Regions from separate parts of the Homo sapiens genome. Here all the other regions are linked to region 3. The links are contacts of gene promoters, found by promoter capture Hi-C in blood cells and fetal thymus (Javierre and others, 2016). All regions are on one chromosome and are shown on one strand. Each heading gives the region's core, a stretch centred on a gene start or on the middle of the fragment in contact. The rest is flanking DNA. Distances are from core to core; before and after follow the strand shown.

Evidence for each region. Contacts are between HindIII fragments. The CHiCAGO score rates a contact against its expected background, and 5 or more counts as called.
Region 1: a fragment that was not itself captured here is called in contact with the fragment with the promoter of CIBAR1-DT in region 3 in 1 of 17 cell types (naive CD8 T cells); the score reaches 5.1 in naive CD8 T cells.
Region 2: a contact is called between a fragment that was not itself captured here and the fragment with the promoter of CIBAR1-DT in region 3, in 14 of 17 cell types (total CD4 T cells, naive B cells, naive CD8 T cells and 11 more). The highest score is 8.7, in total CD4 T cells.

What each region holds. Positions count from the first base shown.
Region 1 is chr8:93,895,012-93,899,232 of GRCh38, reverse strand. No RefSeq gene overlaps it. Among named protein-coding and RNA genes, the nearest start is that of MIR378D2, 19 kb to the left of the region's middle. The HindIII fragment of the contact is 8,617 bases long and covers 1-4,221 here.
Region 2 is chr8:93,941,312-93,945,102 of GRCh38, reverse strand. It overlaps the pseudogene PSMA2P2. Among named protein-coding and RNA genes, the nearest start is that of PDP1, 26 kb to the right of the region's middle. The HindIII fragment of the contact is 6,976 bases long and covers 1-3,791 here.
Region 3 is chr8:93,698,424-93,702,048 of GRCh38, reverse strand. It overlaps CIBAR1-DT (CIBAR1 divergent transcript), which reads left to right and starts at 1,616. Exons shown (of 11, transcript NR_033858.1): 1 at 1,616-2,113. CIBAR1 (CBY1 interacting BAR domain containing 1) reads right to left here and starts at 1,499. Exons shown (of 9, transcript NM_145269.5): 1 at 1,376-1,499; 2 at 591-825. The coding sequence starts at 1,401. RefSeq lists silencers at 1,151-1,270, 1,461-1,600, 1,631-1,680 and enhancers at 1,247-1,871, 1,901-1,980. The HindIII fragment of the contact is 5,458 bases long and covers 1-3,625 here.

The DNA of each region.
Region 1 (4,221 bases), core at 1,038-3,537, 200 kb before region 3:
CATGGATACTAGGCGTTAGGACTTTAACATACGCTTTTGGAGGGCACAATTCAACCCATTCCACTCTACACCAATTTCTCCAACTCCCAGACCGGCATGGGGAATCCAGTAGACGTGGTGAACTGAAATGAACCCTGAGGTCCCTTCAGCTGTGAGTCTGAGGTTCTGTGTATCCACCTGTTCTAAGTCCATACCTCTGTTAACCTTGGGCTACTAAGGAGCCCAAGAGAGACTTGATGAGGAGGAGGTTCCAGGTTATTATAGAACAGATAAGCAATGTGGCCTTTGGAAAGCATGATTCATGTTCAGTTCTTGGCATAGCAGGCTGTTCTATTTTGCTTGTCACAGTCATCCTTTTTGTCCTCATTTTTATTTGTCTGAATGATCGTTGGTCAAAATGTTTTCTAAGCTAAATTGCCATCCTGTTATCCCATAAAATTACATAAAATGGGATGTTAGTGTTTTAAAAAAATAATTGTTACATCACAGATGATTTCAAATGTTGGACAGGCTGCCAGCTGGAGCAGATTAACAAGGAAAATCGAGACTCCTCTCTCTTTCTTTGTCCTTCAGGCTAAAAAAAGGCAAGATAAGAAGAGAGGACATTCTGTAATGAATAAGGGTGGCTGCACCTTCAAACTTTCCCGGGCCCCTCCTGCTGGGTCAGCTCTCAGTATCTGGAGGAGGATACCCTTTGAGGTCCTCGGGGGACTTGCAAGCAGAGCAGGGGGTATGGGGAGAGCATAAATGGAGATGAGACTCTGTTCACACTCTTTCCTGATATCCCTGTGTTTTCAAAGAGAAAACTGTGTCAAAACCAGGGAAGGGGAGGGGGGAGGTGAAAAAGGACATTTTCCAAGAACTCCAGGCCTACAGTCCTTAGTGCAACAGTACCTGTTGTTTACAAAGATTCATCTGCCTCTGTCCTGCATTTCCCTCCGTGGACACCAGGTATGTAAACCAGGACAGGGTAGGGTCTTATCTGAGAAACCTCTCACTTGGGAGCAGGAAGCAAAAACCTCAGCAAAATGAAATCTTATCCCAAATTAAATACAGCACTGTTTTTCTTGACTTTCAGAAATTATTTAGACAAACAATTTGTAATTTAATTATAATGTTATTATGAAAGCCTGTTCCATCACTTGCTGCCAACACTAGGTAAAAATACTGGGGATTCTAAATGTGTCATTATTATTCTAGTCTTTCTTTACCATTCCTTAAGCAGTGGGAGTTATGGATATGTCAGCATTTCCATTATTGCCGCCCATTTTCAAGGCCTCTGTCTTAGTCCTTGAAAATTGCATCATACTGGATGGAAGCCTAGAGGTAATTTCCTTTAATGTTATGGCAGCTGCATTCTTTATGGTTGTGTGTGACTTTGCAAGTGATCTCAATATCTTTTTATTTAAAAAATTAATTCATACATAAGTCTCAACTCTTTTTATGTATGTAGCTCTTATTCAAGATTAGGATATGAATGATGCAAAGTTAAATTTTACAAACAGTGCACACTTAAGAAAGGTTGTGTACTTGGGGTACTTGGTGGCAACAGAACAAGGCATGGCCAAGAAGTAATAAGATCCCGGTGTAGATAATCAGTCACATATCTCTGAGATTGTAAACGTAAAAGATAGGAGAAGAGAGGAAAAGTTCTTAAATTATAAATTTAAATTACATGCATTACACTTATTGCAGACATTGGGATTTTCTCATCAAATCATATAATTTCAGAATCTGAAAAGGACCTTAGGTCTTATCTCCTCAATCAATTATGGATGCTTATTCCATCAATTCCTCTTCTGCCCACCCAACAGTGTATCATTTATCTGTTTCTGCCTTACAAACCAATCCAGAATTTAGTGACTTAAAACAATAATTACTGAGCAGCTCATGATTCCAGGTGTTGGCAATTTGAACTGAACTTAGCTAGGTGGTTATTTGGTTGGTACCGCCTGGGCTCACACATGTGGCTGCAGTCAGCTGGCAGGTCAGCCAGAAGCTGATTGATCAGAGATGGCCCCACTCACACATCTGGTAGTTGGCTATGGTGCAAAAGCAACTGGGCCCTGTGTCTGCAGCATCTAGCACCTACCTCAGGCTACTGGCTACTGTCTTCCAAAAGAAGAAAAGAAGGCAGCTCCCATTGTAGAACTGTTTCCAAGACTCTGTTTGTGTCGCATTTGCTAATGGGTCATTGGCCAGAGCAAATCACATGGCCAAGCTCATAAGCAAGGAGTTGAAGATATAAGACTCTCTCTCAGTGGAATGCAGTAATGTAACTTGAAGTCTGCATCCATTTATTTTTATTCAGAAACTAGTGTCCCATCCTGATAGCTTCAGCTGGGATCTCCTCGTAATTCAGTTGTGCCTCAAAAGAAACAGAAGGGGAAGCAGTTATGGGTGGCCTACTTACATGAAGGAACAAAAAGCCTTAGTTCTTGGACTGTCTTGCAACTCTCTTCTCTTTCCTCAGGATGAACTGAGAATTCATCCTGAGGAAAGAGAAGAGAGTTGCAAGACAGTCCAAGAACATTGAGTCAGTGATAAGGGGTGGCTCTATCAGTACAGCCCTAGTCTGTCCCATAGGTGGCCCCAGTCTTGCCCCCATGAGCTGTACCCAAACCTTGAAGAGAAGAGGCTGCAATCGAAAGTACAAAACAGGAGGCCAGGTGCAGTGGCTCACACCTATAATCCCAGCACTTTGGGAGGCCAAGGCAGGCGGATCACAAGGTCAGGAGTTCGAGACCAGCCTGGCCAACATAGTGAAACCCCGTCTCTACTATATATATATATATGCAAAACAGGGTTTCAGTGAAGTTTCTAGGGAAAACATGGGGATTTAGAGGACAAAGGGAACATTCCTCATTCGGGTCTTAGAACTCGGAATGGGCAAAGCAGCTGAGCAGAGGCATGGGCTGAACCAAGCCTACATCTGGACCAGAGATGGCATGGGAGAGGAAATCAGCTCCAGGCAGGCATCCAGACCTTGCGGGCATGCCCAGGAGAAACTCACAGCCTCAGCAGGTCAAGGAGGGAGAGGATTCATTCTCAGACGTGCACAAGACATCGTCTAATGCCTCCCAGAATGAAGTGGAGGAAATTGAGGAACTTCAGTTCTATAGAGCAAACAAGCCTGGGGCCAGAGAATTGTGTTTTGATGACCATGATCTTGACTCTATTTCTAGGTTCTGGCTGTTATCCCTTGAGGAACGGGGATTAGAGTTATTCCCTATAGATAAACCGTACTTTTTTAAGGTTTAAGCCAGGTCTCAAACACCTGGCTCTAGGCAAAACTGTATATTGTGGTTTGGCTTTGACATGTCTTAGCCTCCTACATAGATTCTCTCTTTCTCTTTCTTGTCCGTATATTTTATTTACTGTCACAAAAGACTCTGCTTTCCTTTATTTGACAAGTAAGTCCCCCCAGGTTTAAATTACTTCCCTGACCTGGGAATATTTGCATATTGATAGGAGATTTGTGATGACCTAAACTCCCTCTAGATCTAAAGAAATAAATGCTTAGTAGAAACCTTCTGTTGTGGCCAGGCGCTGTGGCTCACGCCTGTAATCCCAGCACTTTGGGAGGCCGAGGTGGGTGGATCACGAGGTCAGGAGATCAAGACCATCCTGGCTAACACGGTGAAACCCCGTCTCTACTAAAAATACAAAAAAATTAGCCGGGCGTGGTGATGGGCACCTGTAGTCCCAGCTACTCGGGAGGCTGAGGCAGGAGAATGGCGTGAACCCGGGAGGCAGAGCTTGCAGTGAGCCGAGATCATGCCACTGCACTCCAGCCTGGGTGACAGAACGAGACTCCATCTCAAAAAAAAAAAAGAAATCTTCTGTTGTGACTGGTAGGAGAAGGAGGTGAGGGGGGATGCTGAGCAGAGATGCCTTCTGGAGTCCCTCAAATAGCACTGCATGGGTAGCTGTAGTCGCAAGGCTGTCTCTGCCTCCAGAAACCATGAGAACCAAAGGAAGTGTGAACAGGAGGATGTACCAGTTTTGGAGGATGAAAGAAGCTAATGAACTTATATCCAATATAAGTTATGAAGATTTTCAGAAACACAGGATTTCAGTGGAAGAAAATATGGAAGAATTTAATACTAAACATTCATATACCCACCACCTAGATTCTATCACAGCATGTTACTATACTTGCTTTATCACATATTTACCTATCTATTCATCCCTATCCATCCATCAATCCATCTAATTTAT
Region 2 (3,791 bases), core at 896-3,395, 240 kb before region 3:
CATATATGTATATGTACATATATACACATTTATGTAAATACATAAACTGATATTACATATATACATCTTTGCATATGCTGCACTATGTGTAATATAAATTTATGTATTTAAATAAATATATATGTGTATGTGTGTGTATGTATGTATATGTATATATATATATATACACATATGCATGTAAAGAACCAAATGAAAATTCTTGAGTTAAAATGTGTAACAACCAAATTATTGGTTGACATATATATCTTTATTGCTAGTCTCTATTTGATGAGATTGTCATCATATTATTCTTTACTTCTTTAAGCATAGTTTCCTTTAGTTCTTTGAACATATTTATTATAACTAGTTTGAAGTCTTTGTCAAGTCTGACATATGGGCCTTCTGACAGGCAGTTTTGGTTGTCTGCTTTTTTTCCCCTCTGTGTGTGAGTCACAGTTTCCTGATTCTTTGCATATCTTGCCTTTTTTTGTTGAAAACTAGACAATTGAATAATATATTTTAAGAATGCTATATACTGATTCTTCCCTACAAACCTATAGAGCTACTTTTTGTTGTTTTCTTATTTTTTAGTGACATGTCAGGGCTATTTCAGGAAAGTCTATTTTCTCCACAGTGAAGCCTCTGAAGTTGATCTTCAGAGGACATGATCTTGGACATTTGCACAGTCACCCAGAAGTGACAGTGATTTTAGCAGGGCTTTCTTTGCGTCTTTCCCTGATCTCTCTGTTAAGCTGTCTGCCTCTGTTGGTATCACATCCAGCTGTTAGGCTCCACTAATTGCATGTTGATTGCTCTATTGTTTTTGATAATGTCCTGGATGTCCTGCAGCATAAATTACCGTTGGATCCAATTAAATCTGGGCCTATTTGCAGGAGTGGTTTTTGAGGCTAGTCTTTGAGGTTTGTTCCAACCCCAGGAAGGATCTTCTTAGCTTTCTCCCCTACCCCTCCCCTTGTCTCTTTGGTAAATCAGCTGACCTGTGTTAGCTCATAGCTCCCCTGGGGCTACCAGCCTCCTCTTAATTGCTTATCACCTTAACTTCCATTGTTTTCCAGAGAGCCCTCAGGCATCAACTTCCTCACATTTTGCTTAAGATAAAGTCAATTTATTTAAAGATAGCTCAGAGCTCATGCTCTCTCTCTCTCTTATTTATTTATTTAGAGTCAAGGTCTCACTTTGTCACCTAGGATGGGGTGCAGTGGTGTGATTGCAGCTCACTTCAGCCTTGACCTCCTGGGCTCAAGCAATCCTCCCACCTCAGCTCCTCAAGTAGCTGAGACTACAGGCATGCACCACACACCCAGCTATTTTTTTTGTATTTTTTGTAGAGGCAGGGTTTTGCCATGTTGCCCAGGCTGGGCTTGAACTCCTAAGGTCAAGCAATCTGCCTGCTTCAGCCTCCCAAAGTGCTAGGAGTGCTGGCATAAGCCATCGTGCCCAGCCAGAGCTCTCTCTTCTTATGGCCTGCTCTCCCTGGGCAAAACCTCTGTACCATTGCTCCGGAGCTGGGGGTGGGGACAGTGGCACACTTCTTTCAAAATGACACCCTTGTTTTATGAGCAGCATGCTGGACAGGAGCAGTAGCATCTAGTTTTCTTGGCTTGGTTCTTCCAGTGAGCAACATCTGCCCTAAAAGCAAGCCGGGGCAAAAGCAACTGGGGCCTAGTGTTTTCAACCTGTCATGTCTAGGGTAGCAGTAGAGAGCTGAGTGAAGGACAGGAGTCCCCACCTCTTTGGCTGTACTCACTGAGAATTTAGCCTCTGCCACATGGAGAAGGGGATGAGAGAAATGCTGGCAGCCTGAACTCTGGGAGAGACTGGGAGCTGGGTCTCCATATTCTTGGCCACCCAACCTGCAGTGGATCTTCCATCACATGGAGTTTGAGGGTAGCGGGAGGCAGGGAGCAGATCAAGTGTCGCAGACTCTCACTGTCCAAAATTTAGTAGATTTACTTGAATAAATATTTATTCATTTGCTGTATGTTCTCTGGACAATCTCCAGTGACTCTAAGTGTTGGGGTTTTTCTCCTAATAATTTTCACCAATTACTGATGTTTCACTGGGAAGCAGGTCCGAGAAACTTCTCACACTGCCATTCTGGAATTGGATCTCCAGTACTTGTGTTTGGTATTTTGCACAGAGGCACGGAGGGAAAACACAGTTAAAGTCAGGTTGGGAGCCAGAGAAGAAAAGTGAGGGGATGTGCTTTGGCTCTCCAGGTAAAGATGGCAGAGCACAGGTACAGCTTCTTGCTGACTACACTCAGCCCATCTGGTACACTTGTCCACACTGAATATGCTTTAGCTGCTGTAGTGGGAGGAGCCCCTTCAGTGGGAATTACAGCTGCAAATGGTGTGGTATTAGCACTGAGAAGACACAGAAATCCATTCTGTATGATGAGCAAAGTGCACACAAAGTAGAACCCATTACCAAGCGTAGCGGTTTGGTGCACGGTGGTGCGGATCCAGATCAGAGTGCTTGTGCATGGAATTCAAAAACAGCTCAGCAATACTGTAATATCTCCGTACCAATGATAACGACAGGAAGCAGCCAAATGCCTAGGCAGATAGGGGCGGGTCCCCAGTGAAACCCCACCTTTAAACCAAAAACAGCCTAAAGGTTGACAGACCAGACTGCTGGTCCCAGATGAAACCCACAACTCAGAGTGAAAACTTCTGTTCTTGTTTGCCTGCCCTTTCCCAATCGATTCTTTCTGAATAATGCCTTTTAACCAATCAAATGTTGCCTTTTCCAATACTACCTATGGCCTGCCCCACCCCTATTCTGAACTCATAAAGGCATTGGACCTGGCCATGTGGGGAGGAGAGAACCGCCCGACTGCAGGGCTGGGGGCCACCCGCCGTGTCTCCTCTCCACTGAGAGCTGTTCAGTTGCTCAATATAATTATTCTCCCCTCTCCTTGGGCACAGTACAAGAGCTCAGGAACCGCCAAACGCAGGTACAAACTATAACACAGGTGAGCTGGGGCATGCCAGCATGGTCGAGCAAGGACCGGGTGGGGCATCACCAACTGGGGGTCCCTGGCTTGCAAACTGACTGAAAAGAAAAATCCTACATCATTTTGGGGAATAACCCAGGATACCTGAAGGGTGAGTAAATGCGGACGTAGACACTTCACTTTTTTCCGAGGCTTCTTGTCCTCAGACTCTTTTCTGAAGGCAGATGAAGCACCAAACCTCTGGTGAGCCAATTAAGAGCAATGGCGCAACTAAGAGGACAGGATGCTGGAAAGGACCTCGACATCCCCACCTCCATCATCTCTGGGGTTGGGAATGTCAGCCTCATTCCAATCCAGTTTTTCCTATAGCATTTTCCTTCTTTTTTTTTCACAGATGTCATGGCATTATCTCCCTTACAATGTTAAGGGTGTTGTTGCAAACTACAGAAATATTACTAGGTGGAAAGAGCATTTGGCCCAGCCATCAGATATGCAATTCAGAACAATGCAGTTTCTGTCTATTCTTAGAGGCAAAAAGGAAGCACAGATTAAGAATTTCTCTCCCTTTTGGAGGAACCCAATTGCATAGATCAAGAGGCTTTTTCCCCCAGGCACCTTCCCCACCCTGCACTTAAGCTGTTTTTTTCTTTTCTCCACCATGTCAGGAGTTAACACAGTCCTGCAAATACAGGGAGCTTTTTCTATGCTAGAGGATTTTTTTCCTTTTGAAAGGCATCTTACTAGGCCAGGACCCCAATTCTCCCTTTCACTCCCTTGTTTGAGGAAGACCCGGTTCCACGCGTTACCTTAGCATTGGGTTTATGATAAGGAA
Region 3 (3,625 bases), core at 367-2,866:
AATATGGGCTTTTAGAAAGAAAACAATCACAAGGACACTTCTCCTGCTACCCAGAGCAAAAAGTCCACACGGTGTCTCAGTATTGGTTTGCTTCCATGATACAATTCATAGCATTTTGTTGTTGTTAGTAAACCATTGGTCAATTTTCCAAACCATGGATGCAGCAATGATGTCTTACCCATTTATTAATAATTTATCCATCCACATTACCATTCCCAACATTTCCATCTCCAGTCATTCTTTAAAACGTACTTATGTGCCACACAAGACATTAAGTTATGCTTATTTTCTTCCCCCTGGGTACTATTCCCACTACCCCCAGTAAACAGCCACCCCTTGGCCAAAAGTTGGCAAATAAAGTGGGGAAATTCAAGACCTCAAGATGCCCTAAAGGTTAGCTTGAAAAGGGTAAAATAAAACACAGAACGCTTCTCTTTAATAGACTCACACAGTCTTATGAAAATGTACGTTTTATCAAGTTTGCATCCACCTCTGCAGTTAGGTAGATTACAAGTGAAAGTTTCCACGGTTCCTTCATCCACTACTTCATGGCTCATTCATAACAATGACACTGTGATCTCACTCCATACCTCTGCTTGTCGATAATCCTGAAGTTTGGCAAACTCATCTGCAAAGTTCATCAGGCCCAGCTTTAAATGCGGGGTCTCTGTAGCAGCATACGCGTTAATTTCATTCACCAGGAGGTCTGCTTTGTCTCTCAGCCTGGCAGTTTTCCGCACATAGGCAGCGAAGATTTGGCACAGTTCTCCAAAATGCTTCTCCACATTTGAGACAGCTGTTTGCAGTTGTTTCGTTTGAGCGTTCCTAGGGAAAAGGTGACACAAAAGGCAAAACATTCTCGTTAGAGATGAGAAGGCTTCACGTTAATTTAACATGCAAACATTCCCCGGGCATTCTGCAGCTTTGAAGGCGTAAACCCATCAACGACCCAGCGTCTCCCGGCGCGGACTGCTCTCCATGGGGTCCTGACCTCACTATCCGGACTGTGTAGGCACAGGAAAAGGCCCAGGCCGGGTGGGCCTGGCCTTAACTGGGGAGGTGGCTGCTCCGGCTGCTCCGCGCAGCGCGGCCTGGGCGCCCGGCTGCCTCCTAGGCTTCCGCACTGCCCGCGGCAGTGTGGGGACCCGAGACCCGGTGGCGTGGGTGGGTGGCAGCCGGCCGGGCCCCGGGCTCCTCTTCGCCGCCGGCGGTGGCTGCAGCCCAAGGAATTAGGCCCCAGGTCACAGCGGGGACCGTGCAGCCTCCCACTCAGGGTCGGAATTCGGCGCAGAGGCCCCATGGACAGAGGCTTCCACTTCCCTCACCCCAGCCCTCCAGTGTGGGCGGCCCTGGGCAGCTGGGCTCGGGCTGTTACCGGTTTTCCAGGGTGCGCCTCATCATGCTGCCTCGCGCACGGCCGGGGACCTTGCGGGGGCCCAAGGACGGGGATTCCAAGGCGCCTGGGCGCGCGCTGGGGCGCAAGCAGCCGCCGGGAGCCTGAAAGCCCGCCCCTCGCGCCGCCGCGGCAGGCCGGGCGTTTCTATGGAAACGGGGCGCGCGCCCCCGCGGTCAATGCCCGAGGCAGCCTGAGCGCGGCTGGGGCTCGGAAAGCGCCAAGCAGGCAGGGACCGAGAGGGGTGATGGCGCGCCCACCCCTGCAGAGCCGCCTGCGCGGTTGTCCCGCGCGTCCCTGCCGGCGAAGGCTGTGAGAAGCACCGCGGGGCTACGGCGCCTCCATCCTCTCTAACAGCCGCGCTTACCAGACAGCCAGCCTCCAGCGCTGCTAGGCTACTCCGAGCAGGGGAGAAAAGACGCCGGTCCGCCGGGGACCAGGAGGGAGACGTGAAACCAGAGGCCCGGGGGCCCCCTCTCCGCCTGTGCGACTTGTAGTCTCGTACCAGACGCGTCCGCTTCACTGCTGAATCTGAAAACGTGGGCTCTTGAGAGCTGCCCTTGGAAGGAGCTGTGCTTTCTGCCTCATCTTTAACTTTTCGTTTATTCAGCAAATATGTATCAAGTTCCGACTTCGTGGAAGAGATTGTGTTAGACACTGGGAGTAATAGAAACATAATTAAGAAGCAGGGGTCCCGGACCTGAAGGGCCTGAGCGTCGGGTAAGGAGGCAACGCTTACACCGAACCTGTGCTGAGATAAATAACGAACAGTTCTGGCTCTTAGAGTTGGCCTGGGGGAACAAAAATTCAAAAAGAATAAAACCCCAAACAAACAGGAGGCTCTCCTTTGTCCTTTGAACGCCTCTGTCCCTTTGACCCTCCTGGCCTTGCGTGTGCTGCTTTTCCCAGTAAATACTGCAAGGACTCTATTCAGACTTTGTTTATTTATATATGTATTTTAGATGGAGTCTCGCTCTGTTGCCCAGGCTGGAGTGTAGTGGCACAATCTCGGCTCACTGCAACCTCCGCCTCCTGGGTTCAAGCGATTCTCCTGCCTCAGGCTCTCAAATAGCTGGGATTACAGGCGTGCACCACTATGCTGGCCTGATTTTTTGTATTTTTAGTAGAGACGGGGTTTCGCCATGTTGGCCAGGCTGGTCTTGAACTCTTGGCCTCAAGTGATCCGCCCCCCTTCAGCCTCCCAAAGTGCTGGGATTCCAGGCGTGAGCCACCGGGCCCGGCCTCAATTCAGACTTTATCTGCTTCAAGAAACCTCTCTGGGATCCTCCGTCACTTCACTTTTTCAGGCAGCGTTAGGGCCTTGTCCTAACGCTTTGGGACGGGGTCCTAATACTGTCTGAAGGAGCGAAGTGTTGGAATGCTCAAACAGTACACTTCGTTGATTTTGTACTGCCTCCTGTACCCTAGACTTTGAACCCTTTGAGACAGATTAAATGTGATTTTGGTCTTGTATTCCTCGCTGCCGTGTGCTGCTGATTAAAAGTTTTTATTTTGTACAAATAGATGTCCTCAGTCCTTTGTTTTGAACTTCCCCTATTCGCTTGTGTTACAATGTGTATCTCTCTTTGCTCCTTGCATTCGCTCAGCATGTTATTGGTTGGATGCCTGGTGTGTTCCAGGTATTATGCTTGGCTTTGAGGTTGGCACAGTAACCTAAGGTCAGAATAGTCTGTGCTTTTAGAGAGCTCACAGTTATGTGGCAGTGATAGAAGCTAATCAAAGATGTGTAAAATTGCCACTGAGGTATGTGCTACTGTATCCACTTTTGCAGTGTAACAAATCACCACAAAACTTAGTGACGTTTTACAATCGTTTGGTTAGCTTGGGATTCTGAGTGAGCTGGGTGGTTCTTTTACCTTGGTTCTGCTCAGCTGGGCTCTTACTCACCTTTCTGGTCAGCTGGCGGCTGGATGATCTAAGAGGCCTCACTTCTGTGTCACGGCATTGGCAGGTCGTCAGCAGGGGCCACGTGTTTCTTATTGTCTAGCACCTCAGCCAGGCTTCTTTCCATGGTTTCAGAGTTCCAAAACAGTGGAGCAGGACAAGTCAACTGCACAAGTGCCTTTCAAGTCTCTGCCTATGTTATGTTTGCTGATACACTATTGGCGGATGCAAGCCATGTGGCCTAGACTAGAGGGATCAGAGTGAGAGGGCAGTGGAAATGTTACGGATGGTGTGGTTGGTAGAGGAATTGGTGGCTACTTTTCCAGT